3 separate regions of the Homo sapiens genome follow, and all the other regions are linked to region 2. Evidence: promoter capture Hi-C in human tissues and cell types (Jung and others, 2019). All regions are on one chromosome and are shown on one strand. Each heading gives the region's core, a stretch centred on a gene start or on the middle of the fragment in contact. The rest is flanking DNA. Distances are from core to core; before and after follow the strand shown. Region 1 overlaps ARHGAP35 (Rho GTPase activating protein 35). Region 2 holds the start of ZC3H4 (zinc finger CCCH-type containing 4). Region 3 overlaps ARHGAP35 (Rho GTPase activating protein 35).

What was found. Contacts are between HindIII fragments. The study calls those that stand out against the background at their distance.
Region 1: a fragment that was not itself captured here is called in contact with the fragment with the promoter of ZC3H4 in region 2 in 1 of the 25 tissues and cell types used here (hippocampus).
Region 3: a contact is called between a fragment that was not itself captured here and the fragment with the promoter of ZC3H4 in region 2, in 1 of the 25 tissues and cell types used here (dorsolateral prefrontal cortex).

Annotation. Positions count from the first base shown.
Region 1 is chr19:46,922,210-46,925,170 of GRCh38, forward strand. ARHGAP35 (Rho GTPase activating protein 35) reads left to right here. Exons shown (of 7, transcript NM_004491.5): 2 at 1-147. Among named protein-coding and RNA genes, the nearest start is that of ARHGAP35, 63 kb to the left of the region's middle. The HindIII fragment of the contact is 4,223 bases long and covers 1-2,961 here.
Region 2 is chr19:47,112,321-47,115,564 of GRCh38, forward strand. It overlaps ZC3H4 (zinc finger CCCH-type containing 4), which reads right to left and starts at 1,456. Exons shown (of 15, transcript NM_015168.2): 1 at 1,400-1,456; 2 at 104-269. The coding sequence starts at 264. RefSeq lists enhancers at 1-361, 362-1,089, 969-1,128, 1,369-1,598 and silencers at 1-218, 469-558. The HindIII fragment of the contact is 19,933 bases long and covers 1-3,244 here.
Region 3 is chr19:46,884,272-46,887,223 of GRCh38, forward strand. The region is part of intron 1 of ARHGAP35 (Rho GTPase activating protein 35); the gene reads left to right. Among named protein-coding and RNA genes, the nearest start is that of ARHGAP35, 25 kb to the left of the region's middle. The HindIII fragment of the contact is 4,791 bases long and covers 1-2,952 here.

The DNA of each region.
Region 1 (2,961 bases), core at 217-2,716, 190 kb before region 2:
AGTGATGATGAGCTGGGGCCCATCCGGAAGAAAGAGGAGGATCAGGCATCCCAGGGTTATAAAGGGGACAATGCTGTCATTCCATACGAAACAGACGAAGACCCGCGGAGGAGGAATATTCTTCGCAGCCTAAGGAGGAACACTAAGGTAAGACACCAGTCTAGGATTAGTCATAGTGTTTTGTACAGCGTCTCGGTGAGGGTTGATTGATGATGATTTTTCAAGGACAACCTATTCTGGTAAAAAAAAAACTGCCCTGTGTGTGTATTTGACTTAACATAAAAAAGCAGTGCCTCAATTAGCTACCATTATTGGCAGCTCTCAAGTAGTTAGGACTTTGGATAGATAGTCTGAGTTGTTGTTGCCTAAAACAATAGTTAATTAATTAGCAAAATGAGGAGATAATGCAGAACTTGTCAGTGTCTTGACAAGTGGCCAAGCGCAGTGACAATACACTTGCTCTCCCTTCACTGAAACACCAGAACTCAAAACTGCTTGCCGCAGTCTCTCACTGCTAAACATAACATTTCATCCATACATCTCTTAAATGATCCTTCCTCCCTTGCTGATCTGTAAAGGTTGCTGCATTTGAGATTGGTGAAGGATTGGATGATGATTTGCACACACAAATCAGTGACGAGTCTTTGAGTACATAAATGAAAAAAGAGAATCTTGCCACTGAGAGTTATAAACCTGTCCCGTATTTGTTAAATTGGAATACCATCCAGTCTATTATTTTATCTTCAAGGGAGTTGCTGCTGCTATCAGTCAGAAACTCGGATTTTATTTAGGGATCACAAATGGTGCAGGGAGAGAAAAGAAAAAGTTAACTGTATACATTATAAACATTGGGCCTACTCGTCATATGTAGAGACAGGAGCAAATGAAGTCTCTTTTTTTTTTTTTTTTTTTTGAGACGGAGTCTCGCTCAGTCACCCACGCTAGAGTGCAGTGGCGCGATCTCCGCTCACTGCAAGCTCCGCCTCCTGGGTTCACGCCATTCTCCTGCCTCAGCCTGCTGAGTAGCTGGGACTACAGGCGCCCGCCACCGTGCCCAGCTAATTTTTTTATTTTATTTTATTTTTTAGTAGAGACGGGGTTTCACCGTGTTAGCCAGGATGGTCTCCATCTCCTGACATCGTGATCCGCCCGCCTTGGTCTCCCAAAGTTTTGGGACTATAGGCGTGAGCCACCGCGCCCGGCTGCAGATGAAGTCTCTTATCCTGCGTAGAATTGTAGTTTGTAGTCTGCAGGGCAGAGAGCTGTAAGCAGTACTCTGTCCCCTTGGGTTTAGGCTTTGAGAAAGAAAAAGCGTTTCTCAACTTTTTCTTTTTCTTTTTTTTTTCCATTTGGAGTAGGGAGAAATACTCTTCCCCCCCACCCCCAATTGCCAAGGCTGATTTAGAAATACTGAAATACTCTTTACAGGCCAGGCGCCGTGGCTCACGCCTGTAATCCCAGCACTTTTGGAGGCCGAGGCGGGTGGATCTCTTGAGGTCAGGAGTTTGAGACCAGCCTGGCCAACATGGTGAAACCCTATCTCTACTAAAAAAGTACAAAAATTAGCTGGGCGTGGTGGCAGGCGCCTATAGTCCCAGCTACTCAGGAGGCTGAGGCAGGAGAATCACGTGAACCTGGGAGGCAGAGGTTGCAGTGAGCCAAGTTCACGACACTGTATTCCAGCTTGGGCAACAGAGGGAGACTCTGTCTCAAAAAAAAAAAAGGAAAAAGGAAAAAAAATGTGTATATATATAAATACTCTTTATTTTTTCAGAAAAAGACATTTTGGTGACATGCCACAACAGAACTGTGTTATATAATAATCCTTCACCAGCAGATTATGATATATAGAAGGATTTTTTCACGTTAAAGCTTTTGCTACTCTCCCTCCCATGAAAGAACAGAGAACAGAGTTACTTGTCTGAAAGTACTGCAGGGACCTCTGGAAAGAAAGATTGCCAGAAACTTTTATTATTACAAATCCTACCAAATCAGAAGGTTCTAGAATCCAGGCTGTCTTGAGAGCTGACAATCCTGACAACTCTGTTGTAAAATGTAATACAGAGGCCAGTTTGGCAGCCCTGCGGGCCCCGAGAGATGGAGGAACAGGGTGCCATCACCCTCCCACAGAAATTGCATCCACTTTGTGCTACATCCCATAGTAGAGAGTGTTCCTGCATTACCGCTGACCAGGAGCTTCCAGAGTTTTCTCATCTGTGCAGTGTGAGAAAGGGCAGAGTGGTTCTGTATCCCTCCCCACCTGTGCTGACTATTAATAAATGCCATAGGCATCCTCCTGTCTGATTTTCCTTTGCCTGGCTTTTCTACATGGAGTCCTTTGTCTGCCTCCAGTGTTTTCTCCTCCAAAGGTTGGTAGGAGGCCACCCTGTGGAAAGCATTGCTTATTTAGGAAGCCAGAAAACGGCCTGACTTGCCTCCGGTATTTTCCCAGAGCTCACCTATTTAATGATACTGGAATCCAAACATTTTGAACATTTCTTCTCTTCCTCCTCCTCTCCCAATGAAGACTGTTGCCAGAACAGCTTAAAAATGCTGACAGTCTTCTAATTTGTGGGGGTGTTTGCACACCTGGAAATTAGGAAGGTGGCATAATAGCATACTGAATTATAACTATATTCTGACTTCTAGCTACATTTTTAATACTTACTGAAAATGATGCTTTAAAAACACATTCCCATGCAAGCCAGGCTTTAAAGAGCACACACTGTAGTGGAGGCTCAGCAGAAAACAGCTGATCACAGTGTGCCTCTAAGATAGCTGTGTTCATGCTGGTAATGAGCACTTCCTAACCTGAGACTTCCTTCCCCGGGTTGCTGGGTCAGCGTGCAAGAAGTGGTCGGCTTCCGGTCTATCTTTAGCTATGTGGGCCACACCTCTTCAAGTCAAATAAAAATGATACTTCTGGCCCAAGAGCAATAGCGTGCCAGAAGTCAGTTATGG
Region 2 (3,244 bases), core at 206-2,705:
TCCTCCTCCTCCGCGGCCCGGCCCAACATGGCGGCCGCCCCCCTTCCTCCTCCTCCTCTTCCTCCCCCCGGGGACGCAGCCCCGGCCCAACCGGGGGCCTGACCTGTCGTCAGGGAGCGGGAGGCGGTGGTGGAGGAGGTGCGGGGTGGCCGGGCGGGCGTCGGGGGAACACGGAGGAGGCGAAGGCGTTGATGGCGGCGGCGGCGATGGCGGCGGCGGCGACTCTGATGGCGGCGGCGGGGGGGTCCCGGGCGCGGCCTCCATAGTTCCTTTGGGGGGGAGGGGATGTTAATGCACGAAAAAGGACTGCTTGGGCGTGGCGGGAGGGGCACACTTAAGCTCGGAGGGCTCCTGATGGGAATGGGGTATATATTTTTTCGGTTTCGGAATCACCTCTGCGCTGACCTCCGCGTAGGCCGCACGGCCTAGGCCTCGGAGGGCCGCTCGCCGCCTGCTTTCTCCGCAGCCCACCCTTGCGGTCACTCGCTCACTGGCGCGGGGCCCTCATAGGGGCGAGAGCCCCCCCCCCACGCACCCCCGGGGGGCGGGACACCCGGGAGACACGGACACTGGTGGGTGGTTGGGTGTAATTAGCGCGGGCCGCGCGCGATGGAGCAAGCGAAGGGTAAGGGGAGAAGAGGAGAGCGAGCGAGGGGGGTGGGGGGTTAAAAAGAAAAAAAGGATTTGAGGGAGAGAGGGAACGGGCCGCGGAGACGGGCCGACTGTCTCCCTTCTCTGCCCGCCCTGGGTGCCCCGGCTGCCCGGCCCCCGCCGCAATCAGGAATTGACACAAAATGGCGGCTCGGCCCGAACCAGCCTAGAGGCTGAGGCGGGAGGAAGGGTGAGATGGGAGGGGGAACTGAGAGGCGGAGGCGGAGGCCGTGTCACGTGCAGGAGAGGGGTAGAGACCGCTTGCCCGAAGGCCGGCGGAAAGAGCCGAAGGCAAAGGGCGAGGCCGAGGGGAGGCGGAAATAGCCGAAAGGAGCTGAGCAGGAGCGAGGAGGCGACGGGGGAGAGCCAGAAAGAGCTGAAGGTGGTGATATGGGTGGGGCTAGAGAGAGCATGAGAAACCTAGGGGAGCCATAAATAGCCTAAGCCGATCGGGACCGGGGAAGGAGGAGAAACTGAGACGGTCCGGAAAGAGCCGAAAGCGGTGTCCGGGTGGGTGGCAGGAGGTGGAAACAGCCGAAAGAAAAGCAGCCAGGGTAATGCGATTAAGAGAATGAGCTGAACGGGCGGGGCTGAAGGGGAGAATAAACGACTTTCAGGAATTCGCCGGAGAGCAAGAGGGAAAAACCGAAAATTGCTAGTTTGAAGGAAGGCGGGAAGAGCCAATAGTTTTAGGTGGGAGAATGGGAGGGAAGGAATTCAGGCTACGGAGAGGGAAAAAAAAAATAACCGAAAGCTGGAGGCCAGGTGCCGAGAGTCGGAGGTTTCCGGAGAAGCGATGAAGCCCAGCCAGCCCGGAGGTGACGTCACTCGACAACCCAGTCGATGATGTCATCATTGGATGCGAGAGGGGCGGGGCTTGGTAGTCCCTCAGGGGAGTTTAAGGACCTGGGGTGTAGGACCCATGGAAGGCTCTCAAATAGCAGAGCTAGAAACACTGGCCGGTGTCGTAGACTGTACAAACAAAATCTTTTGACCCTCATAACCGTCCTAACATAAGCTGCTGCTATTCCCATTTGCAGACTGAAGTTCGGTGTTTTAAGTAATCGGTTCACGGTCATAGGATTAGTTCTAAAAAGCACAGCAAGATTTTTTTTTTAAGAGACAGAGTCTTGCTCTGTCGCCCAGACTGCAGTGCTGTGACACGATCATACCTCACTGTAACCTCGAATCCAGGGATCTTCCTTAAATACTTGTTAGCTCTTTCTACAGTGCCAGTCCCTGTGATGGAGCATGGGAACAGTTTCTGTCTTCATGGAACTTAACCGATAATGCCCCAAGGGAGAGAAACAGAGTTAAAGAATAAAGGGGGTGGGTGGAGTGTTAGAGGAGGGTCTTGTAATTGTTCTTTTAGGCTGGTACATGAAAAAGAAGAGATGGTTCCAGGCAGAAGAAATACCTTATTTCAGGCGGGGCGATGTTGCTCACGCCTGTAATCCTAGCACTTTGGGATGCCGGGGCGGGCGGATCGCTTGAGCTCGGGTTGGAGACCAGCCTGACGAACATGGTAAAACCCCTTCTCTACTAAAAATACAAAAATTAGCAGGACATGATGGCTCACACCTGTAGTCCCAGCTGCTCGGGATGTTGAAGAGGGAGAATCGCCCGATCCCGGGAGGTCGCGAGGCTGCAGTGAGCCGAGATTATGCCACTGCACTCCAGCCTGGGCAACAGAGTGAGACTCTTGTCTCAAAAAAAAAAGAAAAGAAATACCTTATTTCAGGCCCTGACAAAGCAAAGACCACTTAGATTCCAGGAAGAGAGAAAAACCGTGTCAACAGTGATAAATCTGGAGACAGAGGCACCATGTGACTTCCTGGTATATTGATCCTACTTTTTTTTTTTTTTTTTTGAGGCAGAGTCTCGCTCTGTCGCCCAGGCTGGAGTGCAGTGGCGCGGATCTCGGCTCACTGCAAGCTCCGCCTCCCGGGTTCACGCCATTCTCCTGCCTCAGCCTCCCAAGTAGCTGGGACTACAGGCGCCCGCCACCACGCCCAGCTGATTTTTTGTATTTTTAGTAGAGACGGCGTTTCACCGCGTTAGCCAGGATGGTCTTGATCTCCTGACCTCGTGATCCGCCCGCCTCGGCCTCTCAAAGTGCTGGGATTACGGGCGTCAGCCACCGCGCCCAGCGGATCCTACTGTTTTTTAAATGTTCCAGCTGGCAGCGGGGCGTGGTGGCACACACCCATAATCCCAACACTTTGGGAGGCCGAGGCTGGCGGATCACTTGAGGTCAGGAGTTTGAGATCAGCCTGGCCAACGTGACGAAACCCCGTCTCTACTAAAAAGACAAAAAATTAGCCAGGCATGGTGTGGCGCGCCTGTAATCCCAGCTACTTGGGAGACTGAGGCAGAAGAATCGCTTGAACCTAGGGGGTGGAGGTTGCAGTGAGCCAAGATGGCACCACTGCACTCCAGCCTGGATGACAGAGCAAGACTCCGTCTCAAAAAAAAAAAAAAAAAAAAAAAAAAATTAGCCAAGCGTGGTGGCCGGCACCTGTAATCACCAGTTACTCGGGAAGCTGAGGGGAGAATCGCTTGAATCCGGGAGGCAGAGGTTGCAGTGAGCTAA
Region 3 (2,952 bases), core at 202-2,701, 230 kb before region 2:
ACTACACTCCAGCCTGGGCAACAAAAACAACAACAACAAAAAGGATCTAACTTCAGAATAAAGGATATCCCTTCCCAAGGAAACTAGCTGCCTTATAGGGACATATGTAGGTATATACTTATAATTCTCATTTTAAACATAAACTGAGGAAAACTGCCACAGGCCAGCTGTTTAACTTTTTGGGGCCTTAGTTTTCTCATCTATAAAATAATGATGATATCCTTTTTTTTTTTTTTTTTTTTTTTCCCCTTTTGAGATAGGGTCTCTTGTCCAGACTGGAGCGCAGTGGCATGCTCACAGCTCACTGCAGCCTCGACTTCCTGGGCTCAGATGATCCATCTCAGTGTCCCTAATAGCTAGGACTACAGGCATGTGCCACCATGTTGTATTTTTTTTGTAGAGATGGAGTTTTGCCATGTTGCCCCAGCTGGTCTTGAACTCCTGGGCTCAAGCAATTCCCCCGCGTAGGCCTCCCAAAGTACTAAGATTACAGGTTTAAGGGCTAGAGTGCAGTGGCATGATCATGGCTTGCTACAGCCTCGACTTTCTGGGCTCAAATGATCCTCCTGCCTCAGCTGAGACTACAGGTGCGCACCCACCATGCCTGGCTACTTTTTAAAATTTTTAGTAGACATGAGATCTTGCTATGTTGCCCAGGCTGGTCTCAAACCCCTGGCCTCAAGTGATCTTCCTGCCTTGACCTCCCAACGTGTTGGGATTATAGGCTTGAGCCACTGTGCCTGGCCCAGGGGTCTATATCTAAATCCTAAAGCTTGCGGAAGTTCTTTCAGCTGTCCCCATGGCTTTGGGCATTATGAATAATAATCCATAGGACATAATTGGAAGGTGTTTCAGCTTAGGATGGATTGGACTTTTGAAAAGCGCCCCTTCTTATAGTCAACACAACATCTCATTCCCCTGTGAACTCACCCTTAGGGAAATCATTTTACTTTTGGACAAGTGAGACCAGATCCTCAGAGATAGTTTGTGACTCTTGCAATAATAATAGCAAATATTTCCTTAATCTTTTCTATATGCCAGGCACTGTATTATGTACTTTACATGTATTAACTCAAGGAATCCACATAACAACCCAATGAAGTAGGTACTATCCTTGTACCCATTACTCAGAATAGGAAACAGGCCATGCATGCTAGGTGATGTAAGCTAAGGATTCAGAGGAAGGAGAATAATAAATTACCCCCACTTAGAAAGTACTGGTCTGGGTTTGTGTGCTCTCTCTTCTGCCCACCTCCCTCCTCTCTCTCTGGCCCTACTTGTTTTTATTAATGTGGGGTTAATGCCGGTGATTTCATATACTAACCTTGATCATTGGGAAATGTTTCTCTCACGGGAAGGTATTTGGATGGGCATAGTACATTCTTTGGTTTGTCTTCTTGATCTCTAGTTTAGCTTACTTGTTAAAGATTTCCAGAATGATCTAGCAGTTAATTCCAGTTCCATTTTCCCCTCCACCTTTTTATTTTTAGTGAGGTCCTAATTGGATTTTTTTAATCTTAATTTTTTTAATTTTTACCTTTTTAGAGATGAGTTCTCACTATGTTGCCCAGGCTGGACTCGAATTCCCAGGCTCAAGCAATCCTCCCGCCTCAGGCTCCTGAGTAGCTGGGGCTACAAGTGTGTGCCACTGCACCCAGCTATAAATAGATTTTTATAATGTGATTTTTAAATTTTAGGGTATTAAGCTTATCTTAAAGTACAATCAAAGCCTGTCACCCATTTCATTTCTCTAATGCCTCCTTGAAGTATTTTGCTTTTGACTTCGGGGAAGAGCCTTGGAGATTGGGTACTGCATGATGCTGCAGGGAGGCCAGTGGTTTATGTTGTCGTCGTCCGTCCTGGAGTGCTTGCCTTAATGCTGCTCATTTCAAATGCCTCCTCTCTGTTTCCAAGGTTGAATTAGCATCAGGTCTTCTTTTACATCAGCCTTGTCTAATATAACTTTCTGTGTTATTCATTATGGTAACCACCAGTCACGTGTTGCTACTTGAAATGTAGCTAGTGGGGCTGAGAAACTAAATTTAAAATTTTTATTATTATTAGTTTAACTTTAAATGGCCAAAGTAGTGCAGATCTAGACTATGCTCCGTAAGGGAGGTTTTTTTTTTCTTTTCTTTTTTTCCTACTTCTAATTCTGACATAGGGCTGTGCTCTTTATGTATTTGTTAAATGCTTTCACTAGCTGAAATACAAGGAAAGTTAAAGTATTCCTTAAAGTCTTCCTCCCAGGGAAAACCGTTGTTAATAGTTGTATTTTTTAACTGTAGGATAAATTGCCAGTTTTTATTATCATTACAGTGATTCACCCTTGATTCTAGGGATCGGGCGTTACTCAAGGTTGTTGTAGATTTGGGAGTTTTAGGAGATGGAGGAGGCTTAGAATGCAGGTTATAAATGTAACAGAAAGAAGTATGACTAATACTGGTAAAAGTGTCTTTATAATGATTGTTGCGATATGATTGAATTTCTATCCTAATGCTTAAGAATCCTTAGTGAAAATGTGGGAAAGAGGATGAATCACTGTTTTCTCCCTTCCCAAATCCCAGATGATTTTGCTAGAATTTTAAGGATGGATTGAGTGTTCAGGTGATTTTGTCTTGACTTCTTGGGTTGGTTGGGATCTTTAAAGAGAGAGAGATTAAAAAGGATTTACTACTAGCAAAACTGAAAAAGCAGAAACATGTCTGCTTGAATTTTGAGTTTCTTTTCTCTTTGATAGTGGAAGCAGCATCTTAGGCCAGGTTCATTTTGTAACTGGTGTGGGTGTATGTATGCATGTGTACATCCGTCTCATGTTTGTTAAATTTTCTTGACTCCCTAACAGTTGTTTGTACTCCACATCATCAGTTTTGGTACCTTCTACTCGTTACTGAAAGGATATATTTACCTTCTCAGTGGGTTGGTGAAGATGGGGGGTGGGGGAGCATATAT